2 separate regions of the Homo sapiens genome follow, and region 1 is linked to region 2. Evidence: promoter capture Hi-C in 16 types of primary human blood cells and fetal thymus (Javierre and others, 2016). All regions are on one chromosome and are shown on one strand. The core of a region is centred on a gene start or on the middle of the fragment in contact, and the rest is flanking DNA. Distances in the headings are between cores, read along the strand shown. Region 1 overlaps RRAS2 (RAS related 2). Region 2 holds the start of CYP2R1 (cytochrome P450 family 2 subfamily R member 1).

Region 1 (6,301 bases), core at 3,057-5,556, 540 kb before region 2:
GAGCAGCCTGGGCAACAAGGCGAAACCCCCATCTTTACAAAAAAATACAAAAATCAGCCGGGCATGGTGGCGCACGCCTGTACTCCCAGTTACTGGAGAGGCTGAGGTAGAAGAATCACTTAAGCCGGGGACATCAAGGCTGCAGTGAGCCATGATTGTGCCATTGCACTCAAGCCTGGGAGACCCTGTCTCAAACAAAATAATTTAAAAAAAAAATTTTAAGTAGTTCACTTAAACCAACTTGTTGGCATGGAAATTCCATGCCATTATCTGAAAATAATAATTCATGTAGTACTCAAGCTACTACAATCATTAATTTAAACATCTGCAACTCGTCATTAAATTATCAGACTTAACTTTTGTTTCACATTTCCACTTTTTTATTCCAAAAACCCACAAACCTCTCTCTAACCTTAAATTCACTCCTTCCTCAAGTAAAATGTATGCCTCTGTGTACCTGCACACAAGCCTACTTGCATGGGGCAAATTTCCCTTAGTTGACACACCTTAATTTTAGAGGCAAAAAGGACAAAATTACAAATTTAATAGCCACATATCTTTTCCATGTGATTTCTGAAACTTAAACATTAAATCTACCACAAATCTTCCTCTGCAGTTTGACTTGACTACCTGCTTAGCTTTCCTTTCAGCTCGCATCTTTTGACTACTGAAACGTCAACCACATCGTCATTAACCAAAAACAGGCATTAAGAGAAAATTCATCAGGAAATAAAACAAAAGTTACAACTTTTAAGACCTTACTCTCAGACTGTTGTATACTTCCCAAGTCAGAATTGCCAGACAGAAATTAAGAAAGGACTATCTTCTCCAAAGACTATTTTGGCTAAAACCGAATGCTACGGATCAACTTCTAAAACTCAAGATTCAACGTGTATATGCCACACATGATTTCTGAAATCCAAAATGATAGCCAGCTCTTTCTCTTCTTCAGTAACTAGATGCTATGGAACCATAATAGATACAACTCATCTTTCCAAAAGCCTCTTTTTTCCACTATTTATTTCCTGTGCCCTACTCAAGACTTTATTTTTTTTTTTTTTTTTTTTGAGACAGTCTCACTCTGTCACCCAGACTGGAGTGCAGTGGTGTGATCTCAGCTCACTGCAACCTCCACTCCTGGGTTCAAGAGATTCTTCTGCCTTAGCTTCTCAAGTAGCTGGGATTATTGGCGCGTGTCACTATGCCCAGCTAATTTTGTATTTTTAGTAGAGACGAGGTTTCACCATGTCAGCCAGGCTGGTCTGGAACTCCTGACCTCAAGTGATCTGCCCTACTCAGCCTCCCAAAGTGCTGGGATTACAGGAGTGAGCCACCGCACCTGGCCTCCACTCAAAACTTGATACTAGCAAATAGCAACAAATATTTTGTTGTGCTTAGTTCTGTGTAACAAAGGTATTCCTAGTCTACGATTCTGAAAATGCAAATATGAATAAAATGTACAAATATAACTAAGAGACATAGATACAGACAAAGCACACCAAATATATAAAGTCCTCTACTAAAATACTTATAGTCTAGTGCTTACAGGGTTTAAGATAATGTCAAGGTGAACCAGACACAGATCGTTGTTCAAGGTCTGAGCTACAGAAGAACAAAAGAAGGAAAAAGGGATCGTTTTCTAATCCATAACCTTCTTTTAAGAATACACACACTCTTCCACTTGCCTCACTGCAGAAAGCTGTGGTATGAAGGATTTAAAAACTTGAAAACTATCCCTTTTAAACATCTCTAATTCTACAAAAGTATACCTCTCAGCCAAAAGCCCATATTTGGAGATTAAGATTTAGAGGGTGTAGTAAAATTTTGTATTTGTTGAAATTCTGCTACTGATAATCTCCAAGAAACTGAAGCTCTCCAACGTCAACTTGCTGTTTAGCACCAAAACAAAGCAGAAATCTCAGTACCCCAAGGCAATTCTGAGAGATGACCAGCTCTTAACTTCCTAAACCAAAAATAGCTATGAGCAACTCTTCATGAATAAACAAGAAAAACAAATATATTCTTCCACACAAAGAAAAATCACTTCCCTGTAAGTTGTTTCATTAAATAGTATCAAGCTTTACAAAAATACCAGTTTTGTGGCCTTCTGAAAAGACAAGAGAACATTACCGTTGTTTAATATCAGACCGAGAAATCAAGGGCACTAAATATGTTTTGGAGACAGTAATTATGTGTGACATCCAGAAAATTTCATCAAGGATGGAGAAGACAAATTTGATAAATCTTCCTAGAATAGAGAGGATCTTATCCTTTTCATTAGCTAACTTAAAACAATGTACTATAAAGTTACAGAAAATCAATGTGTAAATAATAGGTACTTAAGAAGATAACTGAAAAAAATGAATACAAAAATGGAGAAGTCTTCCCAGACCTGAGAGTGTTTCATCATTTCCCTGAGAATACTAGTGACAGAGAAAAACTTCTAGTCATATCCTGATAAATGTGTCCATTTCCAATGATAAGAGAATGCTGCAAGCATACACCTAGTGAAGTTATTTCTACAGAAACTTGAGGCCAGACAAAGATAACAAATAAAGCAGGACCTCTACTGTTATAACACAAAAATGTTGGGACCCAATAATTTTATACCCAGCCAAATCATCATTTATCATGCAAAAGTAAATTTAATCTTAGATATGTTTTCAGTAAAAAGTACTTGGAAATGTTCTTTAAATCACAATTCAAAATAAAAAGTAGCTGTAAAGCATAGTAACTATAGTTAATAACAATATATTGTACTCTTGTAAAAAGCTGAGTGGATGTTACATGTTCTCACCACAAAAATGACAACTATGTGACATAGTACGTATGTTAGCTATATTTAGTCATTCCACAATGTATATATACTTCAAAACACCCTGTTGTACATAATAAATACATACAATTTTATCTGTCAATTTAAAAATAAAAAGGCCAGGCACAGTGGTTCACGCCTATAATACCAGCCCTGTGGGAGGCCAAGGTGGGAGGATTGCTTGAGGCCAGGAGTTTAAGACTAGCTTGGGCAACAAAATGAGACCCCATCTCTAAAAAATAAAAATAAAAAAGTTAGACGGGCATGGTGGCATATGCCTGTAGTCCTAGCTACTCAGAGGGCTAAGACAGGAGGAGGGTTACTAAAGCCTAGGAGTTTCAATGTTGCAGTAAGCTATGATCATGCCACTGCACTCCCGCTTGGACAACAGAGCAAGACCCTGTCTCTAAATAAAGACAATTTTAAAAATAATTAATTAAAACTAGCTGTTCATGAGGATTGTTTGTAAACACTAAAACCAGGTAGAATGATAGAAATGGCAAATAAAAGCAATAACCCTTAATGACAAACGGATTAATGCCAATGGGTATTAACTATTGTAATTGTAATAACAAAACAGAATGCAGAAGATTTTTGAAATCTTTTAAAAATACTGAATCTGACACAATTTTGGTTGTTGTAAATAAGGACAAAAAATGTACGAAAGGAGTGGGTAGAAACAGGGTTAACAAAAGTGCTTAATTCTCATTTTCTGTAACTGGGAATAAGACACTATTTTCTGATTCCCTAATTATGTATGTTTAAAAATATAAATCATTTTATACAGGGACAGATGGCTCACACCTGTAATCCCAGCGCTTTGGGAGGCCAAGACAGGAGGATCACTTGAGGCCAGAAGTTCAAGACCAGCCTGGGCAACATAGCGAGACCTCGTCGCTACAAAAAATCAAAAACTTAGGTACAGTGGCTCACACCTGTAGTGCCCGCGCTTTGGCAGGCAGAGGCAGGAAGATCATTTCAGCCCAGGAGTTCCGAGGGTGCAGTGACCTGTCATCACACCACTACACTACAGCCTGACCTGGGCACCAGAGCAAGACCCTGTCTTTAAAATTTTTAAAAGAATATAAATAATTTTTAAGATAAATTCCAGTAGAAAAAAAAAAATCTACTTTCCAAAAACCACCACAGAACACAGAAAAAAACAAAAACAGTTGTACAGCAAAAGACACACTTGGTGCAAAGGGAGGAAGTTATTATGCTAAATAAAGATTAGAGTTTATGGACAAAACCTTACTGGCCTAACCTAAATTTATCAACCTTTCCCTCCCAAGACATCTGGCTACAAAATTAAGAAGATATATTTTTTAAACAGAAAAAAACCTGGTCCCCTTTATGCTCTGCTTGGTTCCTTTAGGCTTAATTTCATTCAATGCCTCGCTGAACAAATTATAAAGACAAGATCTCATTAGCATAACAAAGTAAAACAAACTCTGCTCATTATTATTATGTAGAGTAACATCAAAGATGTTGACTTTCATCACATGGGCAAGTTGGTGTCAGATTTCCCCCTGTAAAGTTGTTATTTTCCCCCTGTAAAATTAACAATAACTTATGAGAACATACTTTGAGACTATATTAACATCTACTACTCTCAAACTTTCACATACTAGTTTTAACATCCATTTTTACCCACTTAGTTTTAAGATCCATTTATGGTTCTTACTTAAATCAACTGTTATAATTGCCAAAAGGCAACTTACTAATTCCACCTTTTCCTTTATGTTCATTCATTAGTCAGAATTCTACATTAAGGACTTCTAGATCATTTATTTATCATAGATCCTTACTCTATTTATGGGTAATAAACAAGTACTGCCTTATTTATTTCAATGATTAAATTGCCCTATAGTCAGTCAATGGGAGTTTTGCCAGGCTGGCTCCTGTGTCTCTTTCAAATATCCCCATCATTTTACCTTTTTGAGCACTCCCTTATGAGACTACAAGATGCTCCAAGCATATTTTGTATTTTTTCCTTCCCCTATTCTGGAATCCTCCATTTCTCTAAGGTTCCTTCCAGTAGAGAATAGTATTAATGGTATTTAGAAACCAAGATCTAGTGCTAGGTGATCTCATTGCTAAAGGGGTATCACTGCTTCCTGGCCATCTTAGCAGACAGAAGTGGAAAAAGATGTACAGATGTACGCATGTGTATCCATAATGAGATCTATTTCTATATCTACATACTTCTTTTTTTGTTTCTTGTTTTTGAGATAGAGTCTCGCTCTGTTGCCCAGGCTGGAGTGCAGTGGCGCGATCTCGGCTCACTGCAAGCTCCGCCTCCCAGGTTCACGCCATTCTCCTGCCTCAGCCTCCCAAGTAGCTGGGACTATAGGCACCCGCGACCACGCCCGGCTAATTTTTTGTATTCATTTTTTATTTTTATTATTTTTTTTAGAGACAGAGTCTTGCTCTGTCACCCAAGCTGGACTGCAGTGGCGCGACTTGGCTCACTGCAACCTCCACCTCCCAGGTTCACACCATTCTCCTGCCTCAGCCTTCTGAGTAGCTAGGACTATAGGCACCCGCCACCACACCCGGCTAATTTTTTTTTTTTTTTTGTATTTTTAGTAAAGAGGGGGGTTTCACTGTGTTAGCCAGGATGGTCTCGATCTGCTGACCTCGTGATACACCCGCCTCAGCCTCCCAAAGTGCTGGGATTACAGGTGTCAGCCACCACACCCGGCCTATATCTACATACTTCTAAAACTATGAATTTATGCCACTATCTGCAATTCCAATCAAACATCAGAGTTCATTTTAACCTTCACATTTTTCACCTTTGTAACTCCCTTCTCCAACAGTGAGAAACTGGCTCCCATTTTCCACAATATATTTACTTATTTGCTTATAACAGTATAGACAATTGCTTCAAAATTGCAAACCCATGCCTTTATGACAACAACAAAAACCAAAAATTCTAGTTAACTCTATTAACTAGAGTTCAATGTTTCTTTCAATCTTTTTGTCTTTATCCTGAGGACAGAGTTCAAATACTAGGATCAAAAGTTACCTAAATTAGTTGTTTTTCACTCCTTCAGTGTAGTTAAGTTACTCATTTGAAATACGGTTCAGTTCATTTGTTTCTATTTGTACTCCCTGTTAAGGTGTTTTTATTTGTCATCAGTTGATTTGGTTGGTGTGTTTGCTGCTTATATACTCAGTATGTGAAACATTAACATGGTTTCAAAAGTCAGAAAGGTATCCTCAGAAGGGTCCCTGCCCCCATTCCCTCTATCCTTTCCACCATATACCTTTTTACCCATCCTCTAGGAAATCAATCTTATCAACCTCCAATTTATCTTTGTGTTTTGTTTTTGCCCCAATGAACAAATACATACGTATTTTCTTATTTCTCCTTCTTTCTTACACAAAAGGTAGTATACACACAGTAGTAGATACTTTTGCACTTTTTTTTCACTGACTGTAAGTTTGGTTTGTGCGATTCCTCCAAATCTCATATTGAAA
Region 2 (5,487 bases), core at 582-3,081:
GTTGGAAAATAAGATCTAAGAATTATACATACCTTTATTATCTCGTCCAGCTTCCCTTTAACAACGTAAACTATTCGTGAACCATGAAAGGAACGTAAACCATTAGTGACTTTCTATTCTAGAAACCTAGACCAATTCTTTTTTTTTTTTTTTTTTTTTTTTTTTGAGACGGAGTCTGGCTCTGTTGCCCAGGCTGGAGTGCAGTGGCGCGATCTCGGCTCACTGAAAGCTCCGCCTCCCGGGTTCACGCCATTCTCCTGCCTCAGCCTCCCGAATAGCTGGGACTACAGGTGCCCGCCACCACGCCCGGCTAATTTTTTGTATTCTTTTAGTAGAGATGGGGTTTCACCGTGTTAGCCACGACGGTCTCGATCTCCTGATTTCGTGATCCGCCCGCCTCGGCCTCCTAAAGTGCTGGGATTATAGGCGTGAGCCACCGCGCCCGGGCACCTAGACCAATCCTTGTAAAAATTGGTTTAAGTAAGGATTTAAGGTCAAACCTGAAATACCACAGTTGCCAAACATCCCTGTACTTTTCCTTCAAAACACTGACCACAGCCTGTGGCCGATAATGAGATTAGTTTTCTCTCTCCCACTCATCTGCCAACTCCTTAAAAGGCTGTATCTGCCTTCTTCACCGCTAGCGTCAGGCCTGTAGTTGCATATAAATAAGTGTAATTCAAAACAAAACAGGTGAGCTCTGTCCCAGGACCCGTGGAAACTCCTGCCCCCTCCGGACGTCGGGACACCCACACACAAGCGGTGGTCGCCTTTTCCGCTGCCAGTCACAGGGCATTTCCGTGCTGCTTTCCCCTCCGCAGAATGAGGAGGAGCGAAGTACCGACCTCACCGGCTGGTTATGAGTTTTAAATGAGTCACCAAGTTGGCAGTGACAGTGGCACACAGAAGGCGCCTTTTAAGTATCTGCTAAGGTGCCGTTCCCAGCCAGTCAGAACGGCATTACCATCTGCGCTGTAGGACCCCCGCAGCGGATTTTAGTCATCAATTCATTCACGCGTTCACAATCGTTTCCCAGGGCCCGCTTCTCAGTCAGGGGCGTTCCCCTGCATTCTCCATTCTCACAGCAAACGCCTACACCAGTCGTTCGTCGACTGCAGACACCGAAGAACCTGCTATTAACCATCTAGAACTCAGAACGCCTTGATTTTCCGACAAGCCGCGTGCAGCTTCCACAGAGCTGCGAGGCCGACTCGCAAGACGCCCGCACCTGAGGGCATGCGTCCACCCTGGACCTGAAGTGGCGGCGCGGCTGGCGAGCCAAACGGCGCAGGCGCAGGAGCAAGAGCTCGAGCGGTAGCGGGAAAATCAGGACTGGATCGCCTCGGAGCCTCGGCCCGGAGTGGGTCACCGGCAGGGGCGGGGCTCCCCCTGCAAGGGGGCACGGCGTCGAGGACTTCTCCCTTCCAGACCCGGGAAGCGGGTGTCCCTCAAAGGGCAGCCGGCACACGGAGAGGTCCCGACTAGTCGGCCCAGGGGCGGCCATAAGTCCAACCAGGAAGGCCCTGGCCAGCCCGGGCCAGCCTGGCGGCCCTCCCTGCCCGGGGCCCGTCGGGGCTGTACCTCTCCGTACACCTGGCTCTGCTTTCTCATGTAGACATGGGGAAGCTCGGATGAGGCTGCCAGGGAATAGATGTTGCCGATAAATGGCAGCCCCGGCGGCCCCGGGGGGAAGCCCATCGGCCGCCTCTGCTTCAGCAGCTGGCGGACCCCTAGCGCGAAGAGCAGCAGGAAGAGCGCGCCGCCGAGCGCCGCCGCGCCCTCTTCAGCTCTCCAAAGCTTCCACATCGGCCCGAGCTGGAGGTGCGAACTCCACAGCAGCCCTGAGACCCAGGCACTCCCTCCAGCCCTGCCATACTCCCATTGGCAGGATACCCTCAGGTCCCGCCCTAGCTCCGTGGCCATTGGCTGACTGAGTGAGCGCTCAGGCCCCTTCGGGACAACTACCTTCTAGTTTTGCGCGGCTGAGAGTGGACTTTGCGGAGCGGGTGGCCGGTGCTACCCTTTGGAGGTGGCGCGGCTCTAGGCGGAGCAATGAGCCAGGAGTCCGTTTTCTAGAATGTTGACACAAGGGCATTGACGAGGTGTCAGGACGGCCTCACTCACTGGGCTAGGCGGATCCTGCCTCTCTGGGGCCAGACCTTTCTTAAAGTGTCTTTTTAAGTACCAGGTCTGCTTATTTCATTTCACACTAGGAAAACTGGAGAGATGATCAACACTGCAGTCTTTAGCTGAACCTGATACTTTTCAGAATTTCCAGTAGAAAATTGACCCATCAGTAGTAAAAGAAAGTAATTTTACTGTTTTGTCCTGTTTTACTATTTTTCTCCTGTTAATGTATTTTTGTGTGTGATCTTTTAATAATTGTGATGATTGAGCAGTTTATGTGATTAACTCAGTTTACCTATATTTGACCCCTCTCTGGTCTTTCCAAACTGATTACTTATTGGCAATCACGGGACTCTTGTCTGCACTTGTTCACGGAGAGTATTTACTATTCAAGATTTCTGCCTCCACTGCCTGGAATTAAGCAACTGATTTCATATTATTCTTGCTAATTGTTTTTATTCCTGTTTTCTATTGGGCAGTTCCTTGCAATACAGGACTTACTGGGTTTGGGACTCTTCTAACAGCTGCCCTCTAATTGTGATTTAGCAGTGGCATGAGTTTTATGGTCCTCATTAGCTTACGACTCATTCACACAACAAATATTTATTGAATGTCTACTATGTTCCCATGTCCTAAGCAATGGAGATACATAGGTGAATAAGAGCAACAAAGTCCTTTCTATAACTTACATTCTTATGAGAGGGAAGAGCAATGACATGGAAATACAATAATTTTCAATAATCAGAAGCAAACAAAAAGTGCGTTATAGAAAACGCCTGGTGGTTGGGGAGATACTTTAGCAGGCAAGGGCTGTCAAGGAAAGTCTTATTAGGAAGATGACATTGGAGCTGAGATCAACTGCTAAAGAAGTGTATTTGTTTCCTACTACTGTTGTAATAAATTACCACCAATCTGATGGCTTAAAACCACACAAATTTATTTTCTTACAATTCTTGAGGTGAGAAGTCCAAAATGAGTCTTCCAGGGCTGACAGAGAGGTGTTAGTGGGGCTTCATTCTTTCTAGAGACTGTAGGAGAGATTCTATTTCCTTGTCTTTTTCAGCTTCTAGAGGCTGCCCACATTCCTTGGCTTTCGTCCCCATTCCTTCCTCTTCAAGGCCATTAATGTCAGTTTGAATCCTTCCAACATCGCTGTCTCTCTGATTATCTCTCTTCTACTTCCTTCTTCCACTTATAAGGATCGTTGTGATTATATTGGGCCCACCTGGATAATCCCAACTCAAAGATCAGCTGATTAGCCCTTTAATTCCATCTGCAACCTTAATTCTTCTTGCCATGAAACCTAACATATTCACAGTTCTAGGGATTAGTATGTGGACCTATTGGGGGAGGGGAGCATTATTCTGCCTACTATAGAAGAGAAATTTGAGGCAGATATGGGGGAAAATATTCCAAACAGAGGAAATATCAAGGGCAAAGGCTTCATATACTAAGCAAACCTTGTCCTCTGAGAGTGTTTCCAATTTCTCTCCATCTCCCACGCAAGGACACTGCGGAAGTCAGCAAGTTAGTCAGGTCTTTGAGTTTTTCTGTTTAACTGGCTTGTGACTATCCCCAGGGGCTGAAGTTACCCCCACAGGTATGTGTCACAGTATCTGCAGCCACAGAATATCTACCTACTGCCTATTACAAATGCCTATTAAGAGATACCTTAAAATTCTTATTAATCAATAATCTAATAAAATGAAAAAATAATTGTGAGAGATCATTACTAAATTTGGTCTCTAGTTTCTTACCAAAGGCCAGTGGAGATGACACAGGATGGATATTGGGACTGTGGGTGGGAGGCAATGCTGCTGAGGCACCAGGAGCTGAGGAATATCACCTATGGGATGCCTGAGATCAACCCTGCCTTTGCAACACCAGGAGGCTTACAGTTTTTGGTCTGGCCACAGCTGTTATACAGTACAGGTACTTGGTTCAGGAGTGGGCCCCCTGCCATCATTTATTTTCAGAAAGGATTAATTTTCATTACAAAAATATCCTCCAATTCACTTAAATTAAGGAGCATTCCTTCTTTGGCATTCTTTCCCTGGCTACATAGCAGAGGAGAGCTGAGTTACCCCGAGGCAGCCATTTCTGACTGACAGCACTGATGAAATGTTCCCCACCCCACCCCACCACAGCTCCCCTTGAGAGATAATAGGTGGGGTATTCTCAGGAATAACTATAAGTCTTTCAGGACATAGAGCCTTCCCTGTAACAGTTTATCATGTTCCCTCAGCTCAATAAGGAGAAATCCCTCCCTTATTCCCCCTTCTTGCATTTGCTCTTTGAGTGATAGAAAACAATCAATAATGTTTGTCTATGGCTTTTATCATGACAGGAAGGTTTAGGGCAGCAGGAAGTTAAGTATTTCACTGTTTCATGGCTGAGATCTCATCTTCAGTACTCGGGGTGGAATGGGTGAACACACTGTATAGGGCTTTGCCATTTCTATGTGCAGAACAGTAATGGTTCTAACAGAGAACAGCAATGCTGTGCCAGAATCAGAGCCTCTTTCTGGGCCTTTGGGAACTGAACCCAAGCTCCAGGGCTCATCCTGAGGGGCAGTATCAAGTGAGATTCTCCTGGGGTCCCTTTCTGTTCTTGAATGGCTGCAGCCCTGGCCTGGGCCGTGGGAGTTGTCCCAGAGAGCTCCCCACACAGAGTGATGCAATCAGCGCAAATGTGCCTCCTTTGCATGTTCCATTATGTGCATTCTCAGTGTGTTTCATCAGAATTGAAGGAAGTGAGAGCCAAAGGAAGTGCCAAGCTGAGCCATACTGGAGGCTGAGCTAAAAGAAAAAAGTCAATAATAGTGATCCTGCCTTATTAAAAATTTGATGTCTTGTTCGTAATGGGTTTTTGCCTCAATTTTGATTTTAAACTGTTGCATTAAAGTGTTATCTTGCTTTTGATCTTCTTGGAGCCCTCTTAAATTCTGTTCCCAAGGTGAATTTCTCACTTGCCTTATCCTAGTCCTCATGCTGGGAGGTAGGGTACCCAAATGAAGACTTTGATTACAAAATGATGTGTAGAAACTGAATTCGTGCACTTGGATTTTCATTGTGCTCTTAGGAGCCAGGCACTGAGGTGGGGCTGGCAGACCAGTAGCACTTCTGGGTGAGATTAGGAACCTTATGAAAGTCTCCCTGTGACCACTTTAAAAAGTCCTCCTCACCCCACTGCCTGAAGTTCAGTCTTTACAAATTAAATGATACTAATTGAACATTCCCTATAACAGGCTAAGTTGGAAAATGCAAAACCTGGTGGCAGGAGAGTACAGCAATAGGAAGTTCTAAAAACGCTTATACATGAATGAATTTAATCCCACATTTACAGGCAAGGCCGAATGAG

What was found. The method cuts DNA at HindIII sites, captures the fragments that hold promoters and counts their contacts. A CHiCAGO score of 5 or more calls a contact.
Region 1: a fragment that was not itself captured here is called in contact with the fragment with the promoter of CYP2R1 in region 2 in 1 of 17 cell types (fetal thymus); the score reaches 5.8 in fetal thymus.

Annotation. Positions count from the first base shown.
Region 1 is chr11:14,343,941-14,350,241 of GRCh38, forward strand. The region is part of intron 1 of RRAS2 (RAS related 2); the gene reads right to left. Among named protein-coding and RNA genes, the nearest start is that of RRAS2, 12 kb to the right of the region's middle. The HindIII fragment of the contact is 4,460 bases long and covers 2,077-6,301 here.
Region 2 is chr11:14,890,400-14,895,886 of GRCh38, forward strand. CYP2R1 (cytochrome P450 family 2 subfamily R member 1) reads right to left here and starts at 1,832. Exons shown (of 5, transcript NM_024514.5): 1 at 1,582-1,832. The coding sequence starts at 1,806. It also overlaps a transcript of PDE3B not described here. RefSeq lists a silencer at 1,340-1,579. The HindIII fragment of the contact is 6,013 bases long and covers 1,796-5,487 here.